Linked DNA regions of Homo sapiens: region 1 is linked to region 2. Evidence: promoter capture Hi-C in 16 types of primary human blood cells and fetal thymus (Javierre and others, 2016). All regions are on one chromosome and are shown on one strand. Each heading gives the region's core, a stretch centred on a gene start or on the middle of the fragment in contact. The rest is flanking DNA. Distances are from core to core; before and after follow the strand shown. Region 1 holds the start of MORF4L1 (mortality factor 4 like 1). Region 2 holds the start of ARIH1 (ariadne RBR E3 ubiquitin protein ligase 1).

Region 1 (5,497 bases), core at 876-3,375, 6.4 Mb after region 2:
TGTATTTTATATTTCTCAATTGTTGCATCATGAGCCCAAATATTTGAATATTACCTGTGTAATTAACACATAAAGGCAAATAAGTTAACTTCAATACAAAAGAAGAAATAACACAAAGAGGGTTCTAGGATAAAAAAACTCATGGATTCCCAAACAACTCATAACAGTGGGGGAACTGGGCAGATGAGGGGTGGAGGTGGGAAAGAGACTTTCACTATTTTCTTTTTTTTTTTTTTTTTGAGATGGAGCCTCACTCTGTCGCCCAGGCTGGAGTGCAGTGGCGTAATCTCGGCTTACTGCAAGCTCCGCCTCTTGGGTTCATGCCATGCTCCTGCCTCAGCCTCCTGAGTAGCTGGGACTACAGGCGCCCACCACCACGCCCAGCTAATTTTTTATATTTTTAGTAGAGATGGAGTTTCACCGTGTTAGCCAGGATGGTCTTGATCTCCTGACCTCGTGATCCGCCTGCCTTGGCTTCCCAAAGTGCTGGGATTACAGGCGTGAGCCACCGCGCCCGGCCCACTATTTTCATTTTTGTATTTTTAAACGTTTGGATTAAAAAAGTATGTGCAGGCTGGGCGCAGTGGCTCACGTCTGTAATCCCAGCACTTTGAGAGGCCGAGGCGGGTGGATCACCTGAGGTCAGGAGTTCGAGAACAGCCTGGCCAACATGGTGAAACCCCATCCCTACTAAATATACAAAAATTAGCCGGCCATAGTGGTATGCGCCTGTAAACCCAGCTACTTGGGAGGCTGAGGCAGAAGAATCGCTTCAATCTAGGAGGTGGAGGCTGCAGTGAGCTGAGACTGCACCACTGCACTCTAGCCTGGGTGACAGAGTGAGACTTGGTCTCATAACAACAACAACAACAAAAAATTGGCTGGGCGCAGTGGCTCATGCCTGTAATCCCAGCACTTTGGTAGGCCAAGGCAGGAGGATCATAAGGTCAGGAGATCGAGACCATCCTGGCCAACATGGTGAAACCCCATCTCCACTAAGATACAAAAAAGTAGCTGGGCGTGATGGCACACCGAGTCCCAGCAACTCAGGAGGCTGAGGCAGGGGAATCGCTTGAACCCAAGAGGCAGAGGTTGCAGTGAGCTGAGACTGTGCCACTGCACTCCAGCCTGGCTACGGAGCGAGACTGTCTCAAAAAAATAATTTAAAAAAAGTACGTATTTTATATTCAATAAAAAATTTAAAAGTGTACAGGACAGTTTTGGTGGGGTGGGGTCCAAAGAAGCCCTTGTCCCTTTTTACAATTTAGCAATGGTGTCCAAGGGAGTGAATACAGTCATGGGTTCTTAGTTTCTGTTTCTGGTTGGGCCAGTAAAGCCCCTTCCTCATCCCCCTTTTCCACTTATCACTAGAGACTGAAACTAAAAACCATGGCTTCAGGGTGCTAAAAGCCTAAACAAAACAAAACAAAACAACAACAAAATAAGACAGGTTGGACAAGCTTGCGAGAAGTAGTCGTGACAAGATGGTGTATATTCAACTGGAATAAGGAAGGTTTTTGTGGGTTTCTGTTGTCAGAGAAGGGGTTGTGTTAAAAAGACTGAAGGAGAAATGGAAGTCAGATAAATGGAGAGGGGCCCGGAATTGGTGGGGTGTGGAACCCGGGCAGGGGAGGGCTTAGAAAAGCCATGGAGACAGGCTGGGCGCAGTGGCTCACGCCTGTAATCCCAGCACTCTGGGAGGCCGAGGCCAGCGGGTCACCTAAGGTCGGGAGTTCAAGACCAGCCTGACTAACATGAAGAAACCCCATCTCTACAAAAACACAAAAATTAGCCCGGTGTGGTGTCACATGCCTGTAATCCCAGCTACTCGGGAGGCTGAGGCAGGAGAATCGCTTGAACCTGGGAGGCAGAGGTTGCAGTGAGCTGAGATCGCGCCTTTGCACTACAGCCTGGTTAATAAGAGGGAAACTCCGTCTCAGAAAGAAAAAAAAAAAAAAGAAAAGTCATGGAGACAAAGGTTTGCGTAGGAGGATAAAGGTTTACATAGGGGATGCAGGTAGGCTAAGGGCTGTTTGTGGAAGGATTTAAATACCAGGCTAAGGACTTTGAGATTTATCGTCTAAAGTTCATTGAGCACTTATTCATTGTTGGGTACCGCGCTAAGCCCGTATATGTAATTCTCACAATAAACTGACGGAAATGGTGCTATTTTGCAGCTTAGCCAACAAAGTTGTTTTTGAACAGGGAACGACATAAATCCGTTTGTTTAGGCCAGGCACGGTGGCTCACGCCTGTAATCCCAGAACTTTGGAAGGCCAAACCGGGCGGATCACGAGGTCAGGAGTTCCAGACCAGCCTGGCCAACATGGTGAAACCCAGTATCTACTAAAAATACAAAAATTAGCTGGGCGTGGTGGCACATGCCTGTAATCCCAGCTACTCCGGAGGCTGAGGCAGGAGAATCGATTGAACCTGGGAGGCGAAGGCTGCAGTAAGCAGAGATCGCGCCACTGCACTCCAGTCTGGGCAACGGAGCGACACTCCATCTCAGAAAAAAAAAAAAAGGTATAATATTGAAGAAATCCGTTTGTTTAGAGTGACAAGAAGCACAAACAGGGCAGGTACGGAATACAGACGTTGACATATTCACACTAGCCTTTTTCAGAAAGCAGAGCTCCATTATCTCAAAAAGCTAAAGCGTGACTAGTGTTTCCCACGTCATCATCCTCATTTCCGCAAGGCTGGGCTGGAGAAGAGGAGGTAGACCTAGGAGCCAACAAATGGCTATCAATCCCACCAAATAGGCTCCGCAGTGGGGTTGCTAAACAACGAAGCTTCCAGAAGCGGACCCCAGTTCCCACCCTCTTGCTGATCCTAAAGCCTTTCTATGCAAAAACTAGCGGAATGCTATTGAATGTAGGTTTCCGAGCCAGCCCTATTCTCTCCGACTACTTCAACATCAACGGGGGCTTATTTGCCCAAGGGACGTCGCAACTGGGCCTTTCCCATTCTATTATCACTGGTGGCTCACCACCCCCACTCTCCCCCATCGCCAGCTCCGCCTTAACCTCCCACGAAATCAAATCCCCGCTTTACCAACCCGCAGCAGCCGGGGGCATGGAGAGAGAAGCGGGGGTGGGGTGGGGTAGGGTAGCCGGCCCCTCCCCCACCCGGGGGGGGGGGGGGGGCGCCTCCACCGACTCCGAACTACCAGTCCCGGCGTGCCCTGGGGCGGCGCGGGCGCAGGGGCGCGTGCGCGGCGGGCTGTCGTTGGCTGGAGCAGCGGCTGCGCGGGTCGCGGTGCTGTGAGGTCTGCGGGCGCTGGCAAATCCGGCCCAGGATGTAGAGCTGGCAGTGCCTGACGGCGCGTCTGACGCGGAGTTGGGTGGGGTAGAGAGTAGGGGGCGGTAGTCGGGGGTGGTGGGAGAAGGAGGAGGCGGCGAATCACTTATAAATGGCGCCGAAGCAGGACCCGAAGCCTAAATTCCAGGAGGGTGAGTGTGCGCCTTTGGGAAAAAGGCACCTAACGGCGCAGGAGATAGAGGCGGGCTCGAGGTGATTGAGGCTTGAGGGCCGGGGGCGGCGCGGGCTGCGCCCTGAGAAGGCGGCGGTCAGTGCTTTGTGCGGGGAAAGCGCATTGCGGATGGCAATTCCGGTGCGTCATTGTGAGAAAGCGCTTTGTGAAGCGAGAGTGCTGCGCAGGCGTTAGAGTGGGAGAGAGAGCGTTTGGCGCGTGGCACACCCTCGTCAAGTGTTTGTTATTGTTCTGAGGAAGAGGGCGCGGAGAGAGCAGCCTATTGTAGGGAGGCGACGGGAGCGCCATGGCGGCGGTTAGGGGAAGTGATGTGGCGGCGGGGGGGGAGGGGCGGTGGCTGTTTCGGGCGGTCCTGCGGCGCGCCCGGCCGCTTGGGCAGCTACGACGGGTTTTTCGGTGCTTCCTGGAGCCCCGGGGTGGTTGCGTTCGGTGGCAACTCAGCTGCGGATGGGGGTGGGTTTGGCGCCACGGGGCGGGAGAAGTGCGTTGTAAAATGGCCGTTGCAAGATGGCGGCGCCATCATGGCCGCCGGCGTCTCGGTCCCGTATGGAGGCACAGCTTACGGGCAGATGCAGCGCCCCCTTCCACGACGACCAGAAGGTTGCCGGGGCCCTCCGCATACCACAGAGTGGTGGGTGGGGACAGAAAAAAAAAAGTGAGATGAGCGTTTTCCTCCGCTTTGTGTTGCCTGGAGGCATCACTCTGCTATTCTTGGGCGCAGTGCCGAGATCCTATGGTAATGTGAGTGAGCTCTCGCTTTGCAGTTGCTCGTAAAAAGTAAATAAAAATGATCTGAATGCAGTGTTGACGCCGTTTGCATTTGTAAGTCCCATTGCCTCGACGTCATTTTTTAAATGCAGTAATTGTTTGATTAGTTGCAGTGTTTAACAATGACTTGAAAGTTGAATTTCTTTTTATTAATTGGTTTTCGATTGACATGAGTTTTGGGTAAGGTTAGACTGACTCCCAGTGGAAGGCAGCTCTTTAAATTTTCACAACGCTTCAGTTAACGTATAATAAGGTGGAGGTCTAATAGCTAAAAAGGAAGTAAAGTCCTGTTGAGAAAGGAGGAACACTTTAACATTCCTTTTCATTGCTATGGAAATTTATGCTAGTTACCGTAAATACGATGTCTACATGCGTACGATTTTTGTTCTAGGGGTTTTTAGACTTGCATTAGAATTCCTTTTAGAGCCGTAAACCTCAAACCGTAGTACTGCGTATTTTAAGTTTATGGAATATTTAAGGAGGTTTTAGGGGTATTTTGTTAATGAGTGACTTTTTTTGTTTGTATTTTTGAGACGATGTTTGTCACCCAGGCTGTAGTGCAGTGACGCTATCTCGGCTCACCTCTGCCCCCCACCCGGGCTAAAGCGAGCCTCCCAAGTAGCTGGGATCACAGACGCGCGCCATCACGTCCGGCTAAGTTTTGTTTTGTTCTGTTTTGTTTTTTAGGGTTTTTGTTTTTTCTTTTCTTTTTCTTTCTTTTTTTTTTTTTTTTTTTGTATTTTTGGTAGAGACGGGGTTTCATGTTGCCCAGGCTGGTCTCGAACTCCTGGGCTTGAGCGATCCACCCGCCTCGGCCTCCCAAAGTTGTGGGGGGTTAACGGGCGTGAGGCATCGCTCTCGGCCGTGTGACTTTTAATACCCCTCTCTCACCTTGAGAAGCTGTTGACTCTACCTCCTATGGGTTCATTATTTTACTAGACATTTTAGAGCAGATATTCTTAATCTAGAGTCAGTGCATTAATTGAGACGGTGCGTGAAATTGAGGAAGATTTTTTTTTCTATCTCCCAAGTTTAGTATTTCAATTAACAGTGTAATTGCTCCCCCTAAACCCCGAAAAAAACCACCACATTAGCATTTTCAGTATATTTTCATATCTCAACATTACAGTTATGGAAGATGTTTTCAGTTATCGCATTCTTATTTCTTCAAAATTAGGGTAGTTATTGTATTAGCAGCCAAGTCTTGTTTGTCCTGTAATGTCATAGAACGTG
Region 2 (5,980 bases), core at 464-2,963:
GAAACCCCATCTCTACTAAAAATACAAAAATTAGCCTGGGGTGGTGGCATGCGCCTGTAGTCCCAGCTACTCAGGAGGCTGAGACAGGAGAATCGCTTGAACCTGGGAGGCAGAGGCTGCAGTGAGCTGAGATCACCACTGTACTCCAATCTGGGCAACAGAGCGAGACTCCGTCTCAAGAAAAAAACAAACAACAACAACAACAACAAAAACCTAGACTACCAGTATTGAGGTTAAATGCTTTACTTTGTAAATCCTGAGGTTAAGAAATATAATTATCGGTATTTTAAAACTTACAAAATGGACAAATTGGAAGAGGCTTTTTAACATTATAATGGAATTTTTCACTTTTCAAAATCAATTTCCAAAGGGAACCTATAGGTTGAACAGTAAGATTTATCAACAAATCAGGGGTTTTGATTTTAAAAGGTTTTCAATCTGGCCAATTCTTCAGATTATCTCAAGAGGGAGCCTTCTTATGCCTCTTCTTCCTTCATAACACTTCTCTGGCTCGCATGTCCTGTTTGCAAAGATTTAAGCCCACTCTTAGGCATAAAATGCTCTTAACTGACATGACCCCTGACTAACTTGCCTAATATTTTGCCATGTACCCTCCATGCACTTTAAGCTCCCCAAACTATTACTTACTTGACACCTTCTGCGCTTTTGCTTGTTCTCTGCGGCTAGACCATCTTCCCTACCTTCTCTGTTGAACTCCTAGCCATTCATCAACACTCAGCTCACATAGCACACTTTCAGATGAGATTCAAGCATTATCTCTCTGGCTACATTTGGCCCTTGTAGATATTTCTATTATTGCCTGTATTTTGTTGAAGCATTCATGTCTTTTATGTACTACATAGTACATAATATATCTACATTACAAAGCATTTTTATGATTCATGTTTTGGGGCATCCAGCGGTTAAAATAGGGCAAGGGTTATGTGGTCTTGGCCAGGTCCCTTTTCCTTTCTGAGCTTCAGGTTCCTCAGGTATAAAATGGGTACTATGGCTCCGTGAAGATGAGACAGAATATATGTAAAGCCCTTACACAGTGCTCAATTCATGAAAATCATCGCTGTTTACATTGTTTAGGGCCCTCAAGAGGCGCTCTTGTCAGCGGGGTGGAGGAAATGCCTCTTTAAAATGACGTCATTATAGGAGACTTAAAAACCACTGCACGTCTGTACAAGTGGACAGAATCACACAGCTACCTAAAGTGGGTTCACCTGTCATACAGTTTAGAGGTTCCACTTACAACAGGTTTCCATCAGTAGCCAAAGCAACAGAAATTTTAGCTTAACGGCTGAGGGCTTCCGGGATTACCGCAGGGCGGGCGGGAAGCGCCTTTCCGCTCCGGAGGGAAGGCCGCGTCCCCAAGGGACTGCCTAAGTGGGCTGGATCCCTATGGCCTGCGGCAGACACCACCACGTAGGCGGTCCAGGGGTCCCTCTCTCGGTGACTGGTGACCAGGAGGCCGCAATCTCTTCACATAAAAGGTCTACGGGTTTCCGCTCGGCCCTCACAGCGGCAGCGGATCGAACCAGGAAAGCAATTCCCGCTCGGCTCCCCTCGGGTCCCAGGCCCAGGAAGGCCGGGCCGTGGGGTCTCCCCGGGCTCCACGCAGGGGCGGTGGGGCGGGGCGCAGTGACGCAAAGAGGAGTGACGCGACGACGCAGCGCGACGCGGTGACGCACGCCCCTTTGTTGGCTCAGTAGCGATAGCAGCGGCCGTGGAGGTGGCGTTGGGGACTGTTTTCTCTCGGAGGCCGGAGCGGAGCCGCGTCTGACTGAGGCGGGCAGCAAGCGGCCCCCTCGCTCCCTCCCTCCCTCCTCCGCGCCCTCCCCGCCGCCACCAGCCGTCAAACGCCAACCGCCGCTCCTGGGGAGGAGCCGCGGCTCGCGGGGCCGGAGCCAGGCCTGCGTCCGGACATCAGCCGGAGCCGGAGCGAGAGCCGGGGCCTCGGCGTCCCCGCCCTCTCCCCGCCTCGGCCAGCGTCCGCCGGGCCCCCGCGCGTCGCGCCATGGACTCGGACGAGGGCTACAACTACGAGTTCGACGAGGACGAGGAGTGCAGTGAGGAGGACAGCGGCGCCGAGGAGGAGGAGGACGAAGACGACGACGAGCCGGACGATGATACCCTGGATCTGGGCGAGGTGGAGCTGGTGGAGCCCGGGCTGGGCGTCGGCGGGGAGCGGGACGGACTGCTGTGCGGGGAGACGGGCGGTGGCGGCGGCAGCGCTCTGGGGCCCGGCGGTGGCGGCGGCGGCGGCGGCGGCGGTGGTGGTGGCGGGCCGGGGCATGAGCAGGAGGAGGATTACCGCTACGAGGTGCTCACGGCCGAGCAGATTCTACAACACATGGTGGAATGTATCCGGGAGGTCAACGAGGTCATCCAGGTGAGGGTGGCCGCCGCGCCAGCTGGACCGGGCCCGACGGGGGAGCGGATTCAGGCGGCACGCGCGGTCCCGAGGGACAGGCCTGGGCCTGGTGCGCAGCCTAGCCCGGTGCCTCCCGGCCTTGTCTTCTCCGCTGCCTCTGCTGGGGATAGAGGGTGTCGAAAGCAGAGGTTCGCCGATTAGCCGGGTGTGGGGAGGTGCGCTGGGGGCGGTGCTTCCCAAGTCCTGCTATGGCGGAGGCCTTCGGTCGCCTAAGCCTTCTCTTGCGGGCAATTTCTGCCAGTCCCTGGGCCGGGTGTCCTTTCTCTGGCCGGGCGATCGCCTACTGGGGCGGGGCGGAGGAGGTGGGGTGGAGAAGAGGAGTCAGGAAGAATTGGGCCCTGACGGGACTTACCCCGGCCGTAGCCTCATTTGAGCACTTTTGGAAGGGATTAGAGTAGGCCTAAGAGCAGCTTGGTGTACAGTTGCCCCAAGTGGGCACCAGTTAATAAAGAAATGGATCTTGGCAGTCTCAAGTGCCTACTTAAAGGTGGGGGAAGGGAAGTATTTCTCGGAAGAGGTGCTGATGGGCCTTCTTTTCAGATGGTGAGGCTTCTGCTTACATCTTTTTTATGTCTTTGCTGTTTGGGACCTAATTGCTACTTTTTCTAGTCGTAGCAGATGACTTGCTTGAAGCTGTTGGAATAGTTACTGCATATTGCATACCCTTCCTTGTAGCTAAAACAACAACAAAACGCAGTGTTGTCTAATATTGGACAAGACTCTATTGTGAGTTAGAAAGCAGAGGTTTTCTGCTTGTGAACTCCTTTCTCTGATATTTTCTATTTTGTGGTAAGTTAGGCTTGGTGTAAGTTGATAACCACATCTCATTTAACCATGTGCGTCAGATTTTGCATTTTTGAGCTTTAGAAACTCAAAAGTTTTCATTTGGGGAAAAAAAAAACCTCAGTTCTCCTGAGGAGTCAGGGATATGGCTGAAGAATAAAAATGAAGCTTGATTCAGTGCAATTTTTAGAAAACCTGGAAGGAAACATATATGAGCAGCAAGTTACTATTGCCTCTTTTATCAGTATTATTTCTTTTTTGTTTAACTTAAATTGGTTGGCTAAATATTCATTGACAAATTAGAAGTATGTCACTGTCAACTCGTTGACTTTCTATTATTAACTGATTTTTATAGTATTATAAGTAACAGTTTTAAAAATTGAAGCATCTATTCAGGCACTGTTTCAATACAGTGTTTTGCATAATAGAAAAATCTCTGATATCTAGTGCCATTACTAAATAGTGGAAGTCTTCATTTTTAATCTAGAGAACACAGTCTAAGAAGGAAGTTGAGGATTGTAGAAGATAATTTTTTGTTTGTTTGAGACGGAGTCTTGCTTTGTCGCCCAGGCTGGAGTGCAATGGCGCAATCTCTGCTCACTGCAACCTCCGCCTGCCGGGTTCATGCAATTCTCCTGCCTCGGCCTCCCAAGTAGCTGGTACTACAGGCGCGCTCCACCATGCTCAGCTAATTTTTTGTATTTTTAGTAGAGACGGGTTTCACCATGCTGGCCAGGCTGGTTTCGAACTCCTGACCTTGTGATCCGCCTGCCTCGGCCTCCCAAAGCGCTGGATTACAGGCGTCAGCCACCGTGCCCGGCCTGTAGAAGATGCACATGTAAGAAAAATCTGATTAGGTAAGAAAAAATAAAAAGACAAAACAAGCCTGCCACCCAGAGACGTACAACAAAATGCGAACTGTAGTTATTTTTCTAGACCTTTGGATAGCCATTAATATGGTTCCACGTTAATAACAGTGGAACCATACTGTATGTTCTGTTTGTGTTTTCAGTGGAAAAACATTACAGAAATACTCTGAACAACCTTCTGTCAAGTAAATTTTTCGAGAACTTATATGATTATAGATCTGAACTAATTTATTTAATCAATCTGTTATTTGCCTTCCTTTTTATTTTCTAGTTTCTGGCTTTTATAAATATTGAAAATATCCTCATAGGTCAGTCTTTGAGTGTTCTTATTTTCTTGGGATAAAGTGAATTGCTGAGTCAAAAGAATTTGCTCATTTTCAATGCATTTGATACATACTACCACATTGCTTTCAGAAAAGTTATGCTAGTTTTCCCAACCAGTGTTTGATGGGCAAAAAAAACCTGGTGAGATTGAATTTATGTTTATTGGGCTTGGTATTTCTTTTTTAAATTGCCCCTCGCTTTTTGCTCATTTTATTCTCTTTTGCCCATTGCCCCTCTTTGGGATATTTATCTCTTACTGGTTTGTAAGACTTCTTTCTATTAATAGAGGTTGGAAATAGCAGTTATCTAGGTTTTTAATGTTGGTTTGATAAACACTGAATTTTACTTAGTTTGCATTAGAGAGCTTACTGTTAACTCTTAAACATTTAAATTCCCTGTTCTCAGTTCTAATTTTCAGTGTGAAATCAGGTAAGATACATTTGCAGGTGAAAAAGTTTGAAATGTAAAAAGATAACCAAATTAATTTAATATTTCCTTGGGAATTTGATTACTTTTTCTGGGAGAGGAGTTCTGGGCAACAACATAAATACTGTTATTTGTGGATATTTGCAGGTTAGGTTTGGTCTTCAAATAAGTCAACATTATTTTCTTTCAGAAAACTTGGTTTTCTGGCTTTCTATAATTTCCCAATTAACATTTAAATAAAAGACCAAATTAAACAATTAAACTTTATTTAATTTGGTCTTTTGTTTAAATGCTTTGTGGCTACCTAGCTTACCTTTTCAGCTTTTAAGGAAAAAAAAAATCAGAGTTTTTTATTTTGTTTTGTTTGGAGACAGCCTCACTCTGTCACCCAGGCTGTAGTGCAGTCGCGTGATCTCAGCTTACTGCAACCTCTCCCTCCCAGGTTCAAGAGATTCCCCTTGCCTCAGCTTCCCCCCCTACCCCAGTATCTGGGATTACAGGCACCTGCCACCAGGCCCAGCTAATTCTTGTGTTACAGGGTTTCCCCATGTTCATCATGCTGGTACTGAACTCCTGGCCTCAAGTGATCTGCCCTTCTCGGCCTCCCAAAGTGCTGGGATTACAGGTGTGAGCCACCATGCCTGGCCAGGGTGTTTTTTGTTATTTGTTTATTTTGAGACAGAGTTTCATTCTGCTGCCCAGGTTGGAGTGCAGTGGCGTGATCTCAGCTCACTGCAACCTCCGCCTCTTGGGTTCAAGCAATTCTCCTGCCTGAGCCTCCCGAGTAGCTGGGATTACAGGTGTGCACCACCACACCCAGCTACTTTTTGTATTTTTTAGTAGAGAGGGGGTTTCACCATGTTGGCCAGGCTGGTCTTGAACTCCTGAACCCAGGTGATCCACACAGCTGGGCCTCCCAAAGTGCTGGGATTACAGTCTTGAGCCACCGCGCCCAGCCTAAAAAGTAGTTTTCTAATGTAACTATATAAGTAGCTAGGTAATTTATTAAAAGAACCCTGTTCAATTCTGCAGTTGGGAGTATTTAAACTTGCCATTTTGTTTTTCCACAACAGTGTTCAGCAAATGTTGATTGTGCTTTCTAAGTATGCCAGGCATTATGTTAAGCAGAGGATATGCT

Evidence for each region. Contacts are between HindIII fragments. The CHiCAGO score rates a contact against its expected background, and 5 or more counts as called.
Region 1: a fragment that was not itself captured here is called in contact with the fragment with the promoter of ARIH1 in region 2 in 1 of 17 cell types (naive CD8 T cells); the score reaches 5.2 in naive CD8 T cells.

Annotation. Positions count from the first base shown.
Region 1 is chr15:78,869,603-78,875,099 of GRCh38, forward strand. It overlaps MORF4L1 (mortality factor 4 like 1), which reads left to right and starts at 3,288. Exons shown (of 12, transcript NM_006791.4): 1 at 3,288-3,455. The coding sequence starts at 3,416. RefSeq lists silencers at 3,060-3,319, 3,730-3,789, 4,791-4,900 and enhancers at 3,875-4,506, 3,900-4,139. The HindIII fragment of the contact is 1,335 bases long and covers 1,459-2,793 here.
Region 2 is chr15:72,472,617-72,478,596 of GRCh38, forward strand. ARIH1 (ariadne RBR E3 ubiquitin protein ligase 1) reads left to right here and starts at 1,714. Exons shown (of 14, transcript NM_005744.5): 1 at 1,714-2,398. The coding sequence starts at 2,024. It overlaps TMEM202-AS1 (TMEM202 antisense RNA 1), which reads right to left and starts at 1,623. Exons shown (of 4, transcript NR_135678.1): 1 at 1,259-1,623. RefSeq lists enhancers at 1,078-1,177, 2,628-2,837 and silencers at 1,418-1,757, 1,609-1,805, 1,848-2,077. The HindIII fragment of the contact is 10,721 bases long and covers 1-3,389 here.